3 separate regions of the Homo sapiens genome follow, and all the other regions are linked to region 1. Evidence: promoter capture Hi-C in 16 types of primary human blood cells and fetal thymus (Javierre and others, 2016). All regions are on one chromosome and are shown on one strand. Each heading gives the region's core, a stretch centred on a gene start or on the middle of the fragment in contact. The rest is flanking DNA. Distances are from core to core; before and after follow the strand shown. Region 1 holds the start of COX18 (cytochrome c oxidase assembly factor COX18). Region 2 has its middle 4.0 kb from the start of CCNG2. Region 3 overlaps YTHDC1 (YTH N6-methyladenosine RNA binding protein C1).

What was found. The method cuts DNA at HindIII sites, captures the fragments that hold promoters and counts their contacts. A CHiCAGO score of 5 or more calls a contact.
Region 2: a contact is called between a fragment that was not itself captured here and the fragment with the promoter of COX18 in region 1, in 1 of 17 cell types (non-activated CD4 T cells). The highest score is 7.1, in non-activated CD4 T cells.
Region 3: a contact is called between a fragment that was not itself captured here and the fragment with the promoter of COX18 in region 1, in 1 of 17 cell types (total CD4 T cells). The highest score is 6.1, in total CD4 T cells.

What each region holds. Positions count from the first base shown.
Region 1 is chr4:73,068,310-73,071,118 of GRCh38, reverse strand. COX18 (cytochrome c oxidase assembly factor COX18) reads left to right here and starts at 1,403. Exons shown (of 6, transcript NM_001297732.2): 1 at 1,403-1,802. The coding sequence starts at 1,470. It overlaps LOC112268467 (a long non-coding RNA gene), which reads right to left and starts at 1,173. Exons shown (of 2, transcript XR_002959797.2): 1 at 1,090-1,173. RefSeq lists enhancers at 1,052-1,568, 1,115-1,634, 1,569-2,084. The HindIII fragment of the contact is 3,732 bases long and covers 661-2,809 here.
Region 2 is chr4:77,151,782-77,154,558 of GRCh38, reverse strand. No RefSeq gene overlaps it. Among named protein-coding and RNA genes, the nearest start is that of CCNG2, 4.0 kb to the left of the region's middle. RefSeq lists a silencer at 136-205 and an enhancer at 1,916-1,965. The HindIII fragment of the contact is 2,089 bases long and covers 392-2,480 here.
Region 3 is chr4:68,340,085-68,342,784 of GRCh38, reverse strand. The region is part of intron 1 of YTHDC1 (YTH N6-methyladenosine RNA binding protein C1); the gene reads left to right. Among named protein-coding and RNA genes, the nearest start is that of YTHDC1, 8.7 kb to the left of the region's middle. The HindIII fragment of the contact is 1,993 bases long and covers 326-2,318 here.

The DNA.
Region 1 (2,809 bases), core at 154-2,653:
TGAGGTCTTGCCATGTTGCCAAGGCTGATCTCTAACTTCTGCCCTTAAGGTATCCTCCCATCTTGGCCTCCCAAAGTGCTGGGATTACAGGCGTGATCCACTGTGTCTAGCAAAAATAACTTTAAAATTCTGTTCAGATTATGAACAGCTGAACAGTAGTCAGTAGCAACTGATGGCTTTTTTGTTAGCTTAATAAATGGATAAAGAAATAGATTGGTAGGTTTTTCTTTTAGAAAAAGTTTATATATAGTGTGTGTTGTGCTGTGTGTTTAAACACATTTAAAAATTCATGTATAGATTTATCAGTCAGTTTGGAAAGCAGATGAATTCCAGAATCCTGAGAAAGTTATCGTAGGGTACCCTTGGTTAGGTGCACAGTGAAGGGCAAACAATAGCTGGCGTTTGACATTACCCAACATTGTTGGAGGCTTCTTTTCCTAAGTAAGTAAATAAATAAATAAATAAAAATCAAGGTTTACTCCTCACAACATATTTTAGTCTGTAGTCTAGGGGTGACCCTTCGGTGAGGAAACTCCTCCACAACATTCCATTTTGTTGTTTCCAGGAACACAAAAGTTAAAACTATATAGTCCATGTAGATTCAACGTATTCCTTTAAACCAGAAGACAGCCAGTGCTGCTGTTCAGGCTCTTTAAAGCTTATATAGGATACAAGTAAACTCAAGGAATTCACCGTACTGCCAGTGATAGTTTCCCTTAAATAAAGAGATGATACTTTTACTATAAGATTTTTGCTGCTATTTATCATGGAAGACAAAACACCGAAGAAATTCAGTTTGCAGTTGGTGGTCCAAATACTAACTGGAACAGATGGGCCAATTAAATCTACAAGAGACTGAACTATCCCTCGTGCTTAACACTCAGAGTCAGCAAGAAACATGCGTCTCTCTACAAGCAGGTACTTTAGCAACGTGTGACTCTTGAGTATGATAATCTATCGTAATCGCTAACGGAAGCAATCAGGTGCACGTAAAGAGGTTGGGGATCAGCTTCTGGTCACAAAAAACCGAGCAAGGATAATTCCACTACAAATGACTATTAGCTTTAGTGAAAAAGAATGGTAAGTTACACGGTGTAGATGAACTTTACAAGGCGAGAGCTCCCTAAAGAACACCCAGCCTGGCGGAGGGCAGCAGGCTCCACCCATGTCTCTGCAGTTTTGGTCCGGCCTCGGACTAACTACACCCTAGCAGCGGGAAACTTTCGCGTGTGCGCAGTAGGCCTGTCCAGTGCCGCGTGGGAAAGGCGGGACTTTCCTATCTCTTGCGTCACATCCACTGCGACGCAAGACGTCACCGGCTTGACTGGGAAGGTCAATCGCGGCTGCAGGCAGGCGCGCATGCGCTTTATGCCCGCTGTTGCTGGCGCGTGCGCGTATCAGCCTTGGCTGGCCGGTGTATGTCCGCTGGATTGTGAGGCCCGGGATCTGGGCTCCGCCGTGGTGCAGAAATGCTGTGCCGGCTCGGCGGTCGGTGGCTGCGGCCGCTCCCTGCCCTGCAGCTTTGGGCTAGGGACCTGCCGCTTGCGCCGGTTCCTACGAGCGGCGCCAAGCGCCCCACTCTCCCAGTGTGGGCAGTGGCACCAGTCTCTGCAGTACATGCGAACGGCTGGTACGAGGCCCTGGCCGCGTCTTCGCCGGTGCGGGTTGCGGAGGAAGTACTGCTCGGCGTGCACGCCGCCACGGGCCTGCCCTGGTGGGGCAGCATTCTGCTCTCCACCGTGGCCTTACGGGGTGCTGTCACGCTGCCTTTGGCAGCCTACCAGCACTACATCCTGGCCAAGGTGAGGGGCGCCGAGCCGTGCGCGTACCCTGCGCTGCAACCCCTGCGGCGGAGGAAGGCCGACATTCACTCAGGGTTTTCGATCGCACGATGTTGCCTTCTGCAGTGCTTAGTGTTTAATCATCGTGACCATTTCATTGTGACCATTTTAGCGTTAAAAAAAATTGAACTAGCATTAGGTGTGTTAAATAAGATACTTTGTGACACGTGTACCTGTCATTTCTTTTGTCTTACTGGATTTGTGCTCCAAGCACAAGTGGTTACTATACTTGCTCTCGGGGAACGGAGACAAAGAAATCAGTCGCAGAAGAAATTGTGTTGGCGAAACCTACAAAATTTATGTCTTAAAAGTTTTAATAGCCAGTATGTCTGCAGTGTCTTTCGTCCCAAAGTATTCCAGCTGGTCTTTCTTATTAGGAAGAAACTACTAGACTAACAGTTTGCGAACTTGTTTCCTCTCCAGACCCGACTAAGACTGTGTCTGGTTGGTCGCAGTTACTTGACCTTTTAATGCTGAATCCTTTTTTCTGAGGAATCAGGCTAGCAGTACCTTCCTTGCCTACTTCACAGCGTTATCAGAGCAAGTCAGATAATACGGGTTAAAGTGCTTGATTATTCAAATGGGATATTTCAAAAATAGTGGCTTTCTTGTTTTCAGGTTGTGAGCATGGGGAAAAAAAACCGGAAACAAAACAGGAACGGAATCAGCAGCAACATTAAGGCAGTGAGCCATTTTACAGGAAGAATGAGCACAGGGCAGGAATAAATGCTATTTTTACTTTTGATTTGTGGCTATCACAGTGTATTAAAGGTTCTTAACAAACTGCTGTTTTCTCCGCTTACGTTACTAGGAAATGTAGAGATGGAACAGTAAAGCCCAGGGTGCAGTTCTTATCTAATATTTGTAACCCTGTGAAGTAGGTGCTGTTATATATTTTATATGTGAGGGAACATGATTTTAGAGGTTAAGTTACTTGCACAGGATCACATGGATAAGTATGCATTGTG
Region 2 (2,777 bases), core at 187-2,686, 4.1 Mb before region 1:
TTATGAAAAAGACATTATTCCCCTTAGGCTAATCAGGCTTTACCCATTAGCCTTTCCTGAGCTTTCTGGAAGGCAAATTTCCTGTATCATGCACACATACAAAATAAGGAAATCAGAAACTTGGCAGCCCCCAAGAACTTCCAGACAATTTAAGATACTTGGTTTTCTACAGCATGTGGTAGGGGTGCAGTGGGGTTGGGTGATACTGTCACCAATAACCCCATGAAAGCCTGATGTGCAGCCCATTGTCCTCAGTGACATGTGAGACTGAAACTAAAAGGTGCTCACAGAATGGGTAATAAGCAGGGAGTGCCCACACAGAAACACTGACTACATTCAGTGAATCCCTGACTCCTGACAAGTGTGCTGCAAACCTGCTCACACTTAAGCTTCTACCTTGAAAATAGGGCACTCTCATGGGACAGTTGCAGTGCTTCCCTAAATGACTTAGACTTCCCTGAACTTCATAAGGCATCAAAATTGCTACAATTTTCCAAATATCATCTTTCTCCTCAAAGATATGGTTTTTGACAATAAATCCTAGCTTTTTATTCAATCGAAATTTAGTGAATACACACTGAGTGCCAGGCATGCTACTAGGCACCAGGAATACAAAAATACATAAATAAAACAAGGCCCCAGCATATACCCTGGTATGTCTGAGGTGTAGGGCAAAAGCACTGGCCATGGATCAAACTGGCTTTGTGTCTCAGCTTTCCTACTCATTAGAAATGGTGCCTTGAATACCCTGAATAATTCCCATGGTCTTGAGCCTCAGCTTTCTAAACTGAGGAAAACAAAAAGCCAGAGGTAGTTGTGTCTGCTTCATATGTGATGACTGAATACAAACATTTGTGAAAGCAACTAGCTATATATTTCTAGGCTGCACCATGTTGTGACTTCATGAAGGGAAAGGAAGGGATCATCCCTAACCTCATCAAAGAAGTCTGGTGGAAAGCAGCCCTGAAAGGAAAGAACCTGAGGATAAGGATACGTAAAGCTGACATGAGGCCATACTCCCCCTCCCCGTCTACTCACTATTGCTGGGTCCCTGCCTGGGCTGTTTTCTGTCATTAGGCTGAGCACAGTGGTTCATACCTGGAATCCCGGCACTTTGGGAGGCTGAGGTGGGAGGATCACTTGAGCCCAGGAGTTCAAGACCAGCCTGGGCAACATAGCGAGACTTCATCTCTACAAAAAATTTTAAAAATTATCTGGGCGTGGTGGCATGCACCCGTAGTCCCAGCTACATGTGAGCCTGAGACAAGAAGATTGCTTGAGCCTGGGAGGTCTATGCTACAGTGAGCCATGATCATGTCACTGCACTCTGGCCTGGGCAACAGAGCAAAACCCTGTCTCAAAAAAAAAAAAAAAAGTGGTTTGCAGCCCCAAACTTCCTGCTTAGATAAGTCTTGCTTCACAGAACCTGCAATGGAGACAGGAATGCCTCTCTGAGGAAGAGAAACAGGGAAGGTATAGCATAGTAGCATAGGGTGCTATCTTGAAGTAATGCAGATTTTTCAACCAAGAGCTCATTTTTAAATCAGAACCTGGAAGAATGAGATGATTTATATAGCAGATGATTAATCTCTGTCTTCAAGCAATCAGCAGAATAAGTCAGTGAAACATCTCATATATTCTCCTTTCTGATTTTCCCACAAACAAGACCATCTCAAATTTGAAATCAACATTTTACAATCCATTTACTATATATTTTGTTGCTTTTGTTGTTAATGCTAGAAGCATGCCCTGTTTTTTTGGAAGAGTGTTTATGCAAGGGTTGGCCATATTCATAAACATTCATAGTGTTTATCTACGTAGGGTTGGCTTTGGAATTGTGGAAATTATCCACACTGTAGACACCATCTGAATGACTACAGCAAGAGGACCAGTTTTTCCAGCCAGCCACTTTAGTCCCTCCCAGTTCTACTAGCCTGCAAGAGAGTAGCCTTGTAGGAACTATCTCTGCAACCTGAGAACTTGAGAACTAAATGCTCGGTTGACTCTGAAGCCCGACTCAGTACTTTGTTATCCAGTGCTCTCTCTTTTACACGAATAATCAACTGAAATAAATGAAGTAGCTTTGACATAATGTGAAAAGCCTGGCAAAGGAGAGTGAACTGAGAATTCGGCAATGCCTGAAATCAGAACTAATCATCTCAAAATCATCTTAAAATATATTTTAAGTGGCTCAGGCTACATTCTGGTACATTGTACATGATTCTTTATGTAACACATTTTTCTTTCATGGTTTGTTTCAAGAACCATGACCTAACTCAGAGATTTCCTGTCTTTCCTTGACATCACAGTGCTATATGAAGTTGACACTGTCAGCAAAGAGTAACTTAGGATACATCTGTTGAATGTATCATCTTATTTCCAAAAGAAGTTTTACTGTCTGTGAGAGTCATGATCTCTTTTTTTATCTCAAATGAAAAGGCAATTGATGTTTAAAGTGATATGGATAAGTGGTATAAGCTTAAAATTTGCTTCTGTTAACATTTTAAAGTGTTTTCAAAATGAAATTTTTTTTTTAACTTTAAAAAGAAAGACTGCTGTTGAAACCCTGTCTCTACTAAAAATACAAAAATTAGCTGGGTGTGGTGGCACACACCTGTAGTCCCAGCTACTTGGGAGGCTGAGACAGGAGAATCACTTGAACCTGGGAAGTGGAGGTTGCAGTGAGCCAAGATCACGCCACTGCACTCCAGCCTGGTGACAGAGCGAGACTCCGTCTCAGAAAAAAAGAAAGACTGCTTTATATCAAAGATCCTCAG
Region 3 (2,700 bases), core at 73-2,572, 4.7 Mb after region 1:
GTATTAAAATGTTTCTTCTTTTATAATTCATTCTACGTTAAAAAAATGAATTAAAATGTATGCAAAGTGTACTTTTTCAAGTCAGTGAAGAATATGGCCAGAAGCAGCAGTTTACATTAGCTTTATAACTTAATACTATAAGCTTTAACATTGACCTATTTAAATGAATTTTTGTTATTAAAAATGCACCTCAAGTATATAATTAAAATATTTACCCTTAAATAAAACTATAGTAATTTTGGAAACATCTGTCATGTATTATGTATGACACTTCTGTCAACAGTGATTGGAATATGTGTCCCCTCTGTTTGAAGCTAGGTAAGCTTTTGTGATGAATAAATACTGTGATGGTGTTGCTGGATTTCTACCTGTTCCCGTCTCTGTTGGGACACGAGAGTCCTAAACTACCATGTAAAAGATCTGCCTACTCGGTGGTTGCCATAGTAATGAGTAATCACACACACAGAAATGTTGGAGAAGCTCCAGCTTTGAATCTTCCCAGCCTAGACATCAACGAGACTTGTCAATGAACAAGCCTTCAGATGATTTCAGCCCCAGCCCCAGCCCCATTTGACTGCAGCCACATGGGAGACCCCGGTTGAGCCCTGGAACCATGAGCCATAATGAAAGGTGTTACCATTTTAAGTCAAGTTTTAGGGTGATCATCTTATACAGCAGTAGATAATCAGAACATGTATGCATATACCATACCTGTTTTGTTGAAGAAGGAATTTTGTTTTGTGTTCTGGACCAGATTTTATATATATCACATAGCCCAGTCATTAGCAAGAGGGTTGGGGCAGGCAGGTTTTATTAAAGTCCAATAGTTATAAGGAAGGAGAGTCTTCTTACAGGTTGAAAAACTCATAGAAGATTCAAATGTCCTGCTTTTCCTTTCCCCAAAACTGACCTTTTTTAAGTGCCTCTTATCAGAGGTGAAGAATCTTGAACTCAGAAAGACTGGGAATTTCCTGATACCTAAATGCAAGCTATAACCTGCATTTCCTTAACCTCCAAGACTTTTCCCCTTGTATATTATATTCCAGTGTATATATAAGGAGTTTCAGTGATGGAGAAAAGTACTTAAAATTTGGTCATTTGTATTATATCAGGGGTTGGCAAAACTCTTTGTAAAGGGCCAAATAGACTTTGTGGGCTGTAAGTGTTCTCTGACATATTCTTTGCTTTTTTTTTTTTCTTGTTAATAAGCGCCTTAAAAACGTAAAAACCATTCTTGCAGGCCATTCTAAATAGGCAATGGGCCATGTTTATCCTGTAGGTTTTAGTTTGCCAGTTTGTGGTAAAACCACACAGTTTATTGATGTTATGGACTATAATACGGATAAAAGTGTGTACATCATTTAAGTGAGGGTGTTATAGTTGATTTTGAATATTTCAGTAGATTTTAAATGTTGTAATGTTAAAGATATAGAGCTTTCTGGTGCACTAATTTGAAATTTATGTTCTAGTATATATGCCCTTTTAATATTTTGCATTTGTGTTCTTTATACTTTGGTTAAAGTTGCTTTTATTGTTCCCCATCTGATTTAACTGTCAATTTCTAAAGCCGGAACTTCATACTAATATCCATTTGTTACTAGACAAGTGTATTTGGTCAACTGGAACATTTGAGCTTCTCTTTCTTTATCTGCAAAGTAATGAATGATTAAACATGCTCTATTTTATATGATTTGTATATATGATATATTTTAAAAGTGATAAAATTTTAAAAGTGACAAAGTATTTTTAAAAAGTAGTAAGCATTGGTTAATATTTGTTGTCTTGAAAAAGGTTGTAGGTGCTTTCTAAAACTACAACCAGTATCTGAATTTGAATTCGTTAAAACTTTAAAACAGTAATACCCCTTTTTATAGGAAAACCAGGCTTTAAGTGTGTTTGAAACTTAAATTTATTTAAATTAACATTCTGCAAAATTATTTCATTCTGTATTAAATTTAGCATGTCTAAAGTATATAATATAAATGTTCAGGGTTCGGGGATGATATTTCTGAATAAGATCTAGTGATTTTATGAAAAGATTTGTATAGCATTATTTGCCTGTTTCATTGTGATAGTCTTGAAATTTTTTCTTTTTGTCTTCTACAAATGTATTTGATTCTGTGAAGACCTGTTGGATCTACTTTTTTACTGATTAGTGAGCTTTGACCCAGTACTTATTAAACATCTGTAAAACATTGATTTACTTCTATCAGACTATTTTTTTTATAATTTAGAGTCCGAAAATGGTGTTTGCCACCATTCAGATCTTGAAGAAATTTTTCTTAGCAAAAACATGAATCTAGATGATGAGAGAAGCTTTTTTGTTTGACATATCTTGATTTTAAATAAGATTTTTTAAAAGTAAACAAAAATAAAAACCCATATAGCCTGTTTTCATTTTAGAAAAATGATAGAAAGTACATATCAGCATTGGTACCACCCAAAATGATCAATTTTGCTATTCCAGACATAGTAATTTTCAGATATCTTTAGATTGTGTCTGTTTCCAAATGTAAAGGAAAATGATATCTTTTCCATTTCCTATGTAACCTTATCGTTTGTATTAACTATTCTCTTCAGTCACAGATTTCTTTCCCACTTTGGGGAAAATTTGAATCCCATTTAACCTGTTTATAGCCCCCAGGTTAATTAATAGACCTTTCTGTAATTCATGTGGGCTTTGTTTTTTTCCTGAAGCCA